Linked DNA regions of Homo sapiens: region 2 is linked to region 1. Evidence: promoter capture Hi-C in 16 types of primary human blood cells and fetal thymus (Javierre and others, 2016). All regions are on one chromosome and are shown on one strand. The core of a region is centred on a gene start or on the middle of the fragment in contact, and the rest is flanking DNA. Distances in the headings are between cores, read along the strand shown. Region 1 holds the start of AKTIP (AKT interacting protein). Region 2 overlaps MMP2-AS1 (MMP2 antisense RNA 1).

Region 1 (7,104 bases), core at 3,926-6,425:
GATGACGGCAACTTATTTTTAAATGACTCAGGAGGAAAACTAATAGATGAAATACGGCAAAACATTAACATTGTTGAATCTAGATGGTGAGTGTAAGGGAGTTTGTTGTCCTCTACTCTTCGGTATGACTGAACATTTTTATAGTAAAATATTAGAATAAATGATGGTCACGGTGTCATTTGCTTTGGGTGGGTGACTCTCGAGATCACTGAGCTTCCCTATCGTTCACGGAATCACCATTTACCTATTGCAAGAAAGAAAAGGTGTCTGTGCCTGGAATAGTACCCTTCCCTGAAAGAGTATTGCTTTCTCTCTCTTTGGTTTTCTGAGTGTGCCACTCTAGATAAAACTAACTCAAGCCTTTATCATCATTCCAAATGCTTTGAGACCACAGAGTGAAGTGGTTTCCCAAAGATAAACTGAATCAAAGAGAACACTGCTCTTATGGCTGTGGGTACAGTCATCAGCGTGCTGAGGGAGTGGGGATTATTTGCGGTGTCAGACCACGTTCAAAATGCTGTTTGATTATAAAAGGAAATCAGTTCTCTTCAGCCCTGAATGAGCAGCCGTATCATATATTGGTTGCTTTTCCTTAAGACATAAATATCCGCAGTGGTCCATCAGCTACCCTGATTTCATTTTGAAATGTTGTAGTCTGTCTGTAAAATTCATTCCTCCACCCGCCCACCCACTTGCTCAGGGATAGGAGTTATGGGTAATGGGATAGGGAGGAAAACATGATGCAACCAAAACCTGGAAGCACATGTGTGATGTTATAAGCAAGAACCGTATCGCTCGATGAGGCTATGGAAAGGAAGAAAGCCACATCATCCGTCTATAGCAGCATTTCTAAACCTTCAATAATTCTTAAAAGTTTGTGATTTCTGTCTTGTCTGAGGATCATTGTTAACTATAGGACAACTATCTGATCTCCCTTAAATCCATTTACTTAAAAAAAACAACAACATTAAATGCCTACTTTGGTCTCATCCTAAACATTATTACCCATAAAATAATGGCTTTAATGTGCTAAGTATATTTTTTCAAAGACATTAATATGTATAGCTAGATCATCCTCCCATATTTTGAACAGTATATGTAATCAGTGACATGTATACAGGAATCTACTTTTCAGAAAAGGACTTGGGGGCAAATGGATTGCGCTAAAAACATCGGCTTATATGTGTGCCTGTGTATGAAACATATGTATTTTAACAACCTTCAACATTTTATCCTTTCCTTCTTTCTGTGAAGGCCTTTAATAGTTAAGTCAGTGATCTAAACAGCTTTGTACAGTTACTTTTCCGGAGTCCAAAAGATGTATGATTCAGGGAATATTTTGCTGATTAGAACATGAGCAGAAGTCCTGAATACTCAGAGATCACATATCTATTAAGTCTGGATGCAAAAAGAACCTTTTGGTGCAAATATATCAAATATGCTTCAAAAATTGAGAATAGGAAATGTAATATGAAGCGATTTAAAATGTTTTATAGGTAAGGTTTTGGGTCCATTGAGATTTTTCTCAGCACTTTATGTTTTAGTCTTAAAGAAATGGTACCTTGAGGCCACCTCCTCATTTCCCTTTGAATAAATCATCCTGATTTTCATAATGAGTTGCTTTCTTGGTGCAGACCTGTGGGCGTGCAGGTAGGTGTTTCAAATGTACTTTTGTTTCTTCTGTCCTTCATTTGGCAAATATTTATTGCATGCCTACAACATCTAGCTCTTGGGTGCCGGGGAGACAATAGAAAGCAAAAAAATGGTTCCTCCTCAGGAGCTTACAGTGTGGGAGACAGACACTAATAATCTCCCAAATCAACAGCAAATTGCCCCCAAGGAAGTAGTGTTAGAGCTGAGATCTGTGTAGGGGATTGAAGAGAATGAACTGGGCAAAGGGAACGTTCACTGCGAAGGCCCCTTTTGTGGCAGGGCAGGTAGGGGAGCAACTCCCTTCCAAGGAACTGGAAGAATGTCAGAGTGGCTGGAGTCTGCAGCCACCTGGGGCTGGGACACAGCCATGGTGAGGAGTTTGGTCTTTGCCCAATGGGGAACCACTGAAGGGCTTAAATTCCTCAAGAAAATGGAGGTTCTGTCAGCAATGAAAAAGGGAGAAGTGGGTATTAGGTATACAGGCAATAGTGCTTACAGAAACACCCCAAACATACCTACCCAAAACACAACCCAGATTTTCCCATTTCCCACTGTCCCAAACCTGCTTGTGGTTCACTGTTTGTCACCTCAGTGAATGGCCTCACCATCCATCCTGTAGCTCATGCTAAAAATCTAGGTGTCAGCCATATCTGCCTCTTCATCCCCCATACCTAGTCCATGGCCAAGCTCTGTCCACCCCACCTGTATGAATCCATCAGTGTTGCTATAAAGGAATACCTGAGGCTGGGTCATTTATTTTTAAAAAGAGGTTTATTCAGCTCATTGTCCACTTCCTTGGGGCAATTAGCCATTGATTTGGGAGATGACTTGATTAGCATCTATCTCCCGTAGCTCCATGAGGAGGAACAATGTCTGTTTTGTTCTCCAACGCCTCCCCAGCATTTAAAGCCTAGATGTCATTAAGCATGCAATAAATATATGTCAAATGAAAGACAGAGGCAACTAAGTATAAGAAGCATGGCACCAGCATCTTCTGGTGAGGACCTCAGGAAGCTTCCATTCATGGCAGAGGGAGAGGCCAGCAGGAATCATTTGGCAAGAGAGAGAGCAGTGGTCAGGGGAGGAGAAGGTGACAGGCTCTTTTTGACAATCAATTCTCTCGGGAACTAATAGAACTCACTCACTACTGCCAAGAACTCACTACTGCCAGGACAGCACCAAGCCTTTCATGAGGGATCAGCCTCCATGACCCAAATACTCCCACCAGGCCCCACTTTCAACATTGGGGGTCACATTTCAATATGAGGTTTGGAAGGGTCAAACCATATCCAAACTATATCATCCCGTCTTAAACATCTCTGGAACTCATTCAATTCTCCATCTCTACCTTCAAATTCATGCGATTCTCTGTTGCCTGAACTACTGCCATGGTTCCTCAACTGCCCCGTGAGCCTTGTGCCCCTACAATCTGTTTTCCGCACAAAGTGATGTTTTCAAAATACAAATCTGATCATGGCTCTCCTCTGCCTAAAGTCCAGGCAGAGATCTAGGGAAAATCTCAGCCCAAGTCGATCATGGCGGACTCCTTCCACTTGCCGTTGACTGGGTTTCGTTGTGGCCAGAGACTTACTTCTGGCCATTGAAACCTGCAGGCATTTCTTCTGCGGAGCTTCTGGGAAAGGTAGTCATGTATTTCAAAAGGGACCACTGGAAGAAAGGGATACTTTTAATTTTGTGAGATCCTGGGTGTGCCGCGGCCATCTTGCTACCAGCCTGAAAGTGCAATTCCAGGGACTGCAAGGAAAGCAGAGCCTGAAGACCAGGGCACCACCTCTGGAGACAATCCTCCCATGGGAGAGAAATCCCCTTGCTAAGTAAGCCGGTTTGAGTTGGCTTTCCTGCCATGTGCAGTCTGATGCTGGTGTGCGTCTGAGTCATCCGGTGCCAAGTACGCAGTTGATGACATGCATTGGAAGCTCAGTGGATAGATGTGAGCTGGAGAAATACCTATGTGGGTCCTCGGTGAAAACTGAAGGTTGGGGAAAGGAGGAAAGCAGAAAAAAAGCTTTGCAGAGGATAATGAGCTTCAAAGAAGATTGGGAGGAAATGGGCCACAGAGGTGCCAAAGGAGACCACCTGTGGCCTGAAAAAAGGATTTCCTGCTTGCCTGCCTTTCTGTATTAAGACTCGTATTAAAAGGCATGATAACATTCCTAAATGTGTCCTAAGGGGACAAAAGGAAGTGGCTCAGAAGTGTTTTCAGCTAGGGGAGGAAGCTGGGTTTCAGAACCAACCCTTGGGATTAACATCAGGAGAATTTGGCTTCCTGCCCTTTAATAAGTCACTTACCAGAATCTCAGAGGCAACCAAAAATGGACCAAACAACCCGGCCAGAGAATGCGGCTTCTGAGTGTAAGACACTGAGGCGGTGTCACAGACAGGTCAGTGCCTCTGGTGTCTAGAAAAGGGGCAGGGGCTTGCGGGGAGAGGGCTGTCGCGCAAGTGTGGAAGTGGAGTGCCGAGATTGGACGGACTAACCACGGGGAGGCACCGTTGGTAAGAACAGGCCTGGAAAGCAGCTGGCAGCAGTCACAGAATTAGGCCAGAGAGAGACCTCCATGGGAAAGCAGACGGGAGGTCCAAATGAGAGCGTGTGAATTAAAAAAAAAAAAAAAAAAAAAGACCAGGAACTATGTTGCTATGGGAGAGGTTCTCCAACTTCAGTGTGCGCCAGAATCAGCAGCGAACTGTGACAGATGTGGATTCCTGGTCCTCAGCCTCCCCCCTCCCCCCAGCCCCCGGCCCCCACTCGGATGCTGCAGGTCGGGGCCGACACACACAGATTTACAAAGCTCCTCTGGCTGCTCTAGTGCCCAGGGCCCACTTGGAGCTGAGCTCCCTTCAGCTCCAGCCTTCAGCTCCTGCACTGATGGAGAGAACGGGCGTTTCTTGATGCCACGCCAAGTGTCCTTCTGACCCCTGGTACCCTGTGGGCCCGACGTGGCGGCCTCGGGCCTCGCAGCGCCGCCCAACGCAGTAGGACCTAGCGATGGGAGCCACTGGGCAGTCGCGCGGCCCGGCCCTCCCCAAAAGCTTGGCTTGCAGACGTTAGCGTATGCCCCAGCCCCTGCGCATGGCGGTTGCGCTGTGGGCTGTGCGAATAAACCTCCGGGAAGGTCTCCGTGGTGACTGGCAGACGCCCTGGCCAATTGTGACCCGGCGCTTGTTTGTCTCTGCCCCATCCCTCCCCGGGGGGCCGATACTTCCATGACTGACAGGCCGTCCCAGGCGCTGTTACGTAAGGGGAGGGTCAAGTGCAGTCCCACCCAAACCGGGGTGATTTGATTTGCAGGACCGAGTGTGTTCTTCCCAACGCCCCCGGAAGAACGTCTTTGACGGGCAGGTGTGAGAGCCAGTTGGCGCCGGGAGGCCAGGCGGAAGCCTCGGGCCCCAGGATCGTGCAGCAGGGGGCGGAGCCCGCTGCCGAGGGCAGGGCAGGGCAGGGCAGGGCGGGGTGGGGCGGGGCGGGGATCAAGCAGGGGCAGGGCTGGCGCTGCGGCGGGAGATGCTGTCGGGCCGCGGCGGCGCTTGGCAGCCAGGAGCTCTGCATTGAAGGCACTGGGGTGAGGCTTACTGCCCGGCAGGCTGGTGGGTACGCGAGGGCTGAGGTGTCTGTAAATCTGGCCGCCAGCCTCCACGGGCCCGGCATTTGTCCATCTTTCTAGGCGCTCGCGACTCGGCGACGGCGGCCGCAGTGGGACACGGAGGCGGGGCCGGGCACCTGTGCGCGTTTGCAGGCACCTGCTGCGCTGGCCGCCTCGCAGCCCGGGACTGCTGCTGGGGACTGCGGCTGGAGCTGGGCTGGCCCGGCCCGAGGGAGAGGGGGGCCCAGCTGGCTCGCCCCGGCCCGTGCCCGCCCTCCCCGGCCGGGTCCCGACCCCGAGCTCTGGTTAAGGGGGCGTCGCCGGGCCCCAGAGCCCCCCCACTGGAGGGGCCCGCGGCTCCCGGGCCAGCATCGAGCTAGCTGCGAGGCCAGGACAGGGCCCCCGCCTTGCATCACCTCGAGACAGGTTTGTCCAGATTCCCTGAGTGCTCAGAGACGGGTTTCCGCCCGCGGTGAGGGTGCCGGTCCGAGGCCGCCGCGGGTCCCGGCTGTCCCCAGCGAGCCTGGCCCGGGCCGTTTTCATCTTTTTTTTTCTGGCCCCTGCTCTGTCTCCTCTTAACGTGTAATTTCTTAAGTCCGATTCGGGGTGATGTGAGTGCGCTGTGGCATGTAGAGTAACAGCAGCACTCATGTTTTAGCCTAGTTTTAGCTCTGCCACGCACTGTCATTCGCGCAGGCTGAAGACCCAGACTTCTCAGCTGGGTGATGTAAAGGAATGCAGCCGTGGCCAAACAGGCAGAAATTCTAAAATTGTTTCCAAGTGACAAGGATGTAACATGTCTTGCTTCCATCTATGTCATTCCTCTCAGAACATGTATGCTGTGCTTGTCCTAGACTAGACCCTGAAAAGTGTGCTACAGTTTCTCGTGATTATGTTGCTGCTGGAAACATTGGATTAAAAGATCCATAGCAAAGTTAGGCAGCAGAAGACAATACCTCCTGCTTAATGACAGGCAGAACTGGGGACAAAATTTACTGGATTCTTAAAGAGAATCCTAACGCGTTAGACCTTTAAGAGACTTTACAGGTTTGCACCAGCCCATTAAATGTATGTTGTGGAGCACACCACTGTGTCCCAAGGGATCCGGTCCCGTGTTAGGTGTGTCCTAGAGGACACTGGGGTGCTGCACATTACTGCTAGATCTGAAAATCAGTGTCTTCATTTGAGCCAAAGGGGAACATGCCCCCGCACATTTTTGATATCTCAAGTATATTCAGTGTGTCATACTCACCTTTAAAGGCAGATTTGCGGAGAACTGTTGTTACTTATTGCATGTTATCCATGCTAGTAGAAGAGCCAGGATCTTCATTCCTCTGATTTAATTACTGGGTGGCATTTTCTCTTGGAAAACAAAACAGCAGTAATGGGCACTGGCAAGGTATGGATGACCTGGGTTGGGTACGTCCCTGGATGTCACAAGCTCGTCAGAGAAGACAAATTATTGCTGATTGGGGACATTTAGTACATGGTTTGCTCATGATCTGTTTAAGAAATTAGGAAAACGTTGCTTAGTTTTGACCCTTTTCACCTTCAGCCGTTTGATTGGTGCAAGTAGGAATTCAGAGAAGGAGCTCTGCTTTAAAGGTAACAGAGCCTGGGGGGAAATACCAGGGCAGGGAAGTTGCTGTTCTTACAGCTGGGCTTGGCTGCTTTTCCTTTGCTTCTTTGTATTTTTAGTAAATGACCCACTGACTTTATGACCTTTGAGACATGCTTTCTTATCCACGACTTGAAGCTTCGGCTGGAAGATCTGTACTTGTGAAATGTCTCTCTTGCGTGCCTGTGTTGCATTTGTCTGGATTGCTTGGCAGTTCCTTAAGTACAT
Region 2 (6,475 bases), core at 726-3,225, 1.9 Mb before region 1:
TCATTTAAGCCTATTTGGCTTGGGATTCTGTCACTTGGAGCTGTGTGGTGACCTTATGCAGTGTTTATGGGGTTTACACAGTGGTTGTCATGGCCTTTTCAGTTCAGGAATCCCAAAGCTTTATGGCTTCTATGATTCTCCTGGGAGTGAGTGGGGCTGGCTGCAGGAAACTGGGTCACAAGGCCTCAGCCACAGTCGCCTTGACTCTGCCAGTGTGGTGGGGGCTTGGCCTGGTCCCCACAAGGAGAGAAAGTGTTGAGTCCCATGTCTCACCACTCTTCATGAGTATAATTATTTTGATGCCAAATTATTAATGGGCTTGGCTGTGACATGTTTTCCCAGACCCCCCTTGGAGATGTCACGTTATAAATGGTGATCTCATTGTATAATATTTTTAAATCTGAAAATTTAAATACTGAAATACCACTGACCCCAGTGGTTTCAAGGAATGGCGTGCAGACTTGTAGTGATCTCTACTCAAAACTTAGAAGCTTTCACATAAAATTCCACATTCCTGGTTTCCCTGAAGAGGGAGAAGGCCTGGCATTGCTACGTAGCGCCACTGGGATACACACCCAGGGTGATAAGTGCCTGACACTGAGCTGCCCCCACTCCCTTGGATGGGGCCCGCCTTCCGCATCCTGACCCGGGTCTCTACTGCTGTGCACACACAGCCCCCATATCAGTCAAGAATAAGGAAGACTTAGACAATGCTCCTTCAACACCAGTGCCCAGGGAGTTTCTAAAAGTGCAGTCACCCCGGGATACCTCTCTCCTGCACATTGCTTGAGATCCCTAGCTGTGAACACTAACAGGAGCTTTTATGCTTCTATGCTCTGTACCAAACGCATGTGCACCAGCTCATATCATTCTCATGACAGTCCTGGGTGAGGGTCATTCCACCCCTTTTCACATAAAAAATCCGAGGGTCAAACACACCGTGTATCTTTTTTTTTTCTTTTTTTGAAATAGGCTCTTGCTTTGTCACCTAGACTAGAGTGCAGTGGCACAATCACAGCTCACTGCAACCTCGACCTCTTGGGATCAAGCGATTCTCCCAGCTCAGCCTCCCAGGTAGCTGGGACTACAGCTATGTGCCACTATGCCTGCCTTCTTTTTGTTTGTGGAGACAGAGTCTCACTATGTTGCCCAGGCTGGTCTCAAACTCCATGCAATCTTCCCACCTTGGCCTCTCAAAGTGCTGGGACTATAGTCACGAGCCACCACGCCCGGTGCCCACACCATGCATCTTGAGCCACCACGCCTGGCACCCACAGCATGCATCTTACCCCAGGCCACATCCCTAGGGAGAGCTGGGACCAGAGAAGACCTCCTGCCCTGCGAGCTTCTTTTGACCTTTGTATCTGGGGCAATCAGCAGAGGTGACTGTACCATGGCACCCCACACCCAGTCCAGTTGTGAGAGGAAGGAGGTGGAGAGGAGTAGGTAGACATAGTAAAATAAATGTCATGGAAGCCAAATTTAGAGGATATGGAGAATGTCAAAGTGAGAAGCTGGCAGGTCATTTGGTCTAATGCTCTTGTTTTCTCCATGGGGGAAAGTGGGGAAGTTGACAGTTTCAAGGACACGTAGTGGCCCTGGAAAGAGAGAAGGGTCATTACAGTGGTTGTTATGGTCATTACAGTAGACCAGATTCTGAGACCTAACGTGAACCCTGGGCTTCCCCATTTAGCACTGCTTTCCCCTGAAAGCTTCATTCACTTGTCTACCCAGGGCAAGGGGAACTCCTGGCCATGTGCCTGGGGGCCTTTGCTCTCTCTTCCTGCTCCTCCAGAATAACTTCCCTTTGGGTAATTTTTCCATTACACTGTTCCCCTTTGGACTTTCAGAAATAAAAACCCAGCCCCCCTGGTGTGCAGTCACACTTGCGCCCTGAGGAGTAGTTAAAATTCAGCTTGAGGGGCACTTAGTGTCACAGAAGCCTAGATAAAGAAACAAGATTTCAGGCAGGAAGAAATAATAAAGAGGCAGGACTTCAAGTGTCCTGTGAAACACAACATTCGGCCTCCGGCACACACATCCGTGGGAGACGGCTCAACTTCTTTATAAAGTGGTGAGTTCTGTGTGAGCACAGATGCATTTTGTTTTCCTATGAGGAATCAATGATTAAATTATCAGAAAGCTAAAAACCAGGCTGCCTGAATATTCCCCGACGTGTCCCCTGTGTCTCCCCAGCACCTCCTGCTCAGGAGGTACAGGCTTTATCTCCAAAGCTTTAGTTTAAATGTCCAACACATCTTATTAATGAAAGTAATAAGCTGTTGTTTATTATATGTCATGATGGGGAATATGACTATTTAATATAAACCTGACATTTAAATTCCACTTAGTTATGAGACGTGGACGATATCAAGGCATAACTCTTTACCCTGGAGTAAAAACTCCCTGGGTCTGCATTTTAAAGCATTGAAATTTTCAAAGTAATCAGGTTCCTTTTTTTTTTTTTTTTCCAGAGGAACCAAATTGTGAAGACATCTGTTCTGTTATTAATTTCACATACATCTTAAGCTCCTCAAGGCCAGAAATGAGGCTTCATTCACGTCGAATTAATGAAACATGATTGTAAGTCCCTTGCTTGGAAATGCTGTCACACAGTTCTGAGCTGCTTATAAGCACTGAGTAATCTCTGAAACTGCCAGGGGACGGCCACTTGAAATCTGCCCTCCCCTCCCCCTGCCACCCAAAAACAATATCTGAATATATCACAACACTAACTATATCCTGAAAGATTAATAGCAGATAAAAATTTCTGGGAAATGAATCAGACTTTCTCAGTAAAGGATACAGAGATCTCAGGCAAAAGCAGATTGCATAGTGGAAGAGCTCTTTGGGATACAGTTTAATAACTGTGCCCCAGGCTGCCCCTGAATACACCCAAAAGGACGATGGTGGGCCAGGAAGGGGGTGGGGAGTCTTGGAATTTCTTGCAGAGATGTCTTTTGAGGGTGTGTACGAAAATGTACTGGAGGTGACACAGATGTGAAACTGGAAACTTGATCTGCGAAAGCATGATGTATGTGTCAGGTGTGTGGGAGAATGTGTGTGCATATGGAAACTGTGTGTGAATGCATGCAGGAATGTGTATGAGTCTACTTACATGTGGGTGAGTATGTGTATATCAGTGTGTGAGTTCGCGCACGTATGAGTGTGAAAATGTGTGTGTTGTGAGTTTGTGTTGGTGACTGTGTATGAGGGTATGTGTGTATGAATATGGGTGAGTTTGCATGTGTGAAAATGTCTGTGTTGCAAGTTTTTATTGGTGAGTGTGTATGAGGGTATGTGTGTATGAATATGGATGAGTTTGCATGTGTGAAAATGTGTGTTGTGAGTTTGTGTTGGTGAGTGTATATGAAGGTATGTGTGTATGAACATGGATGAGTTTGCATGTGTGGAAATATGTGTGTTTCGAGTTTTCATTGGTGAGTGGGCATGAGGGTATGCGTGTATGAATATGGATGAGTTTGTGTGTGAAAATAATTTTGTGTGTCTGTGGATGCATATGAAGGTGTGTGTGTGTGTGTGTGTGTGGTGAGTGGATGCATTGACATGCACAGATCTCTCAGGACAGACAGGAATCAGTCAGTCCGGGCTGGATCTTAAATAGCAGCTCAGCACAATACCATGCCCATCTGAGCCAGTCTTGAAAGGAGCTTGCTCTTGAGGTTTTGGGTTTGGGGGGCTTGATTTTTTTTTTTTGTCAAATAACTGAAAATGCCAGCAGAAAGATTGTCTGGAGGGAGGCATGAGATGGGGAGCCTGAGATTTCTTAATCAAACTTTCAAGTGTTATTTTTGGTCTTCCGCTGAGCTGGGACCAAAAAAGAATCTGCATATGATATTTACATCTCAAATCTTCAGAGCCTCATTAGCTTTGATAGTTATTTATTTATTTATTTATTTGCAAAAAGGAATTTAAATCAAACAGAGAGGCACAAAAGCAAAACCTTTGAATGTAGTGCAACATTAATTAAAACAGGCAGCCGAAGGGTAGAGTGAAATACAATGGAATCCAGAAAAAAAAAAAGACAATGAAACTAATTAGACTCTGATGGGAAGATCCTTCCTCGTTTGGTGATCATCCATTGGTAATTAATAAGTCACAAATATTGATGTTTGAAGAAAAGTGCCAGAATTTTAACCCCTGTTTTTCCAGAAGTTTAAAAAAAATTTCTTTAGATTCTGATCTTCTAAACTAAATCAGTCAAATGATTGGATGTTGAATTTTACAGTCATGTGTTGGTGACGGATGGGGATGTGTTCTGAGAGGCTATTTCATCATTGTGCCAACCTCATACAGTGTACTTACACACACCTAGATGGTATAAGCTATATGGAATAGCCTTTTGCTCCTAGGCTACAAACCGGTATAGCATGTATCACACTGAATACTGTAGGTAATTGTAACACCGTGGTAAGCATTTACATATGTAAATATAGAAAAGGTCCAGTAAAATTATGGTATAAAAAGTAGAGAATGGTACACCTGTATAGGGCACTTACTGTGAATGGAGCTTGCAGCACTGGAATTTGTTCTGTGTGAGTCAGTGAGTGAGTGGTGAGTGAAGGTGAAGGCCCAGGACATTACTGTATACCACTAGAGACTTTATAAACACTGTAGACTTAGGCCATGCTAAATTTATAAAAAATAAAGTAATTGCACTACAGTATTACAATGGCTACCGTGTCACTAGGTGATATGAATTTTTCATCTCCGTTATAATCTTATGGGACCACTGTCATATATGCAGCCTGTCATTGACCGAAACACCATTACACAGCACAGGACAATATTGTGTTCTGGGGGAAACAGACTAGCCTATACCAGCAACTGGTTAGCTCTCAACACCTGTCCTCAAAATAATGTGCAGGTGGATCGAATTCAACTGTCAGCGGATAAAGATATATCTAATACAAGAGATGCTGGACTCCAGCAGTTAGCATTAACCCAGTGGTGGAACCAACTTGTATATATGAATGGATACAATCCCAGCTAGATTTTTGCCCCTGTATATTTTGAGGCTTTGTTGTATGATCCATGCTTTGTAGATCTGTGAAAAACATTTCCAGGCATCCAGTTGAAAAACCCTTGACCAACAGTATAAAAACGACTTTTAGCTTTGCCTAAGCATAAGGCAGCATCAAAGGGGTCTGGCTTCCTTTTGGGAAGTTCTTTTGAATGAAGTGATCAGTTAGTATTTATGCTTTTTGTCCTTCTGTATTATGCAACAGCACAAATGCACAACTGCCCCAGTGGGACAATCTAATGCATAGCCAGCCAGTCACACAGTTTTAAAGTTGGACGCATGTGTCTTTGGCACGTCCCAGGTCTCCTTTCAACTTCTTTCAGAATCTCTTTTTTACCACCCTCCAGCCCAGCGCTTGAGGTTCTCAGGATGACCCTGGGTCATTTCTAGCTTAAAGAGAGTGGGCTTTGAGAAATATCTTGATAAGTGTTAGTGCAATTTTTAAAGATGGCTAAAATGCTAATGGTGAAATTTCAGGCTTTGTGGCAGTTGGATGAAAGGAATGTTTTTGAGCAAAAGATCTTTCCAACGATCCCTCAAACCTACAATGCATAAAAGTGGACTTGTTTAGATAAGTCAGTAAATTATGCCTAATCTCAGTTTTCCTCCATGTAAAGAGGAAGAAATTAAACTAGAAGTAGAATGATCTTTAAGGTTTATTAAAGAGAGAGAGAGAGAGAGAGAGAATGGTTTGCCATGTGCAAAAAAAGGCAAGGCTCTTCCTTATAAGTAGCACAGGGATTCATTCATTCATTCATTCATTCTGTGTGTGTGTGTGTGTGAGAGAGAGATCTCTGGGCCAAACCCTATATCACAGTTCTTTCACATCATTTCACCTACCCCTTACAACAACCTTTGAGGTGGGTATTCCTAACAGGAGTGGTTGTCAATTTATTTAACTATCAATAAGCCACAGATACTTGCCAATCAGAAAGAACACTGAGTTAAACACTAGAACAGGGTCCTGGAGACCCCTGACTGTGCCAGGTATTTGTTGCTAGATGAGGAAAGAGGTGGGGAGGAGCCAGGGTGCCTGGCACAATGAAGGGGAGATTGGGAAGCTATTTGACAACTGGCCTGGGAAATGCTCTAATTTTTAAACTGCTGGTATGGATTTTGTACTATTGGATATGGCTGAACATCAGCCGTGACTTTCAATCTCCCCATTCTGCAAAGGACAAAGCTGAGGCCCTGGGAGGTCATGAAAGCTTCTCAAGATAAACCCATCAAAAAGCGACAGGCTTGAGTTGAAGGCTACTTTAAGTCTTTGAGACTCCAAAGTTGGTGTTCTTAACCATTATGCTGACTGTACACATGTCTCTAAGTTGACCTCAGTCTGTGCCAGGCTGGCCTGGCATTTCTCTACAAAGAACTGGAGGAAAGTGGATCGGAGGAAAGATCTGGTTTGAGTGGGAGTAGAGTTGGCCGATT

The links. The method cuts DNA at HindIII sites, captures the fragments that hold promoters and counts their contacts. A CHiCAGO score of 5 or more calls a contact.
Region 2: a fragment that was not itself captured here is called in contact with the fragment with the promoter of AKTIP in region 1 in 4 of 17 cell types (M0 macrophages, M1 macrophages, M2 macrophages and 1 more); the score reaches 13.6 in M0 macrophages.

The regions. Positions count from the first base shown.
Region 1 is chr16:53,501,280-53,508,383 of GRCh38, reverse strand. AKTIP (AKT interacting protein) reads left to right here and starts at 5,175. Exons shown (of 10, transcript NM_022476.4): 1 at 5,175-5,237. LOC124903690 (a long non-coding RNA gene) reads right to left here and starts at 4,004. Exons shown (of 2, transcript XR_007065069.1): 1 at 3,964-4,004; 2 at 2,406-3,643. RefSeq lists silencers at 4,008-4,097, 4,818-5,057, 5,078-5,147, 5,408-5,707 and enhancers at 4,418-4,517, 4,978-5,477, 5,478-5,979. The HindIII fragment of the contact is 2,307 bases long and covers 4,710-7,016 here.
Region 2 is chr16:55,440,221-55,446,695 of GRCh38, reverse strand. It overlaps MMP2-AS1 (MMP2 antisense RNA 1), which reads left to right. Exons shown (of 7, transcript NR_147198.1): 4 at 2,475-2,583. Among named protein-coding and RNA genes, the nearest start is that of MMP2-AS1, 19 kb to the left of the region's middle. The HindIII fragment of the contact is 522 bases long and covers 1,715-2,236 here.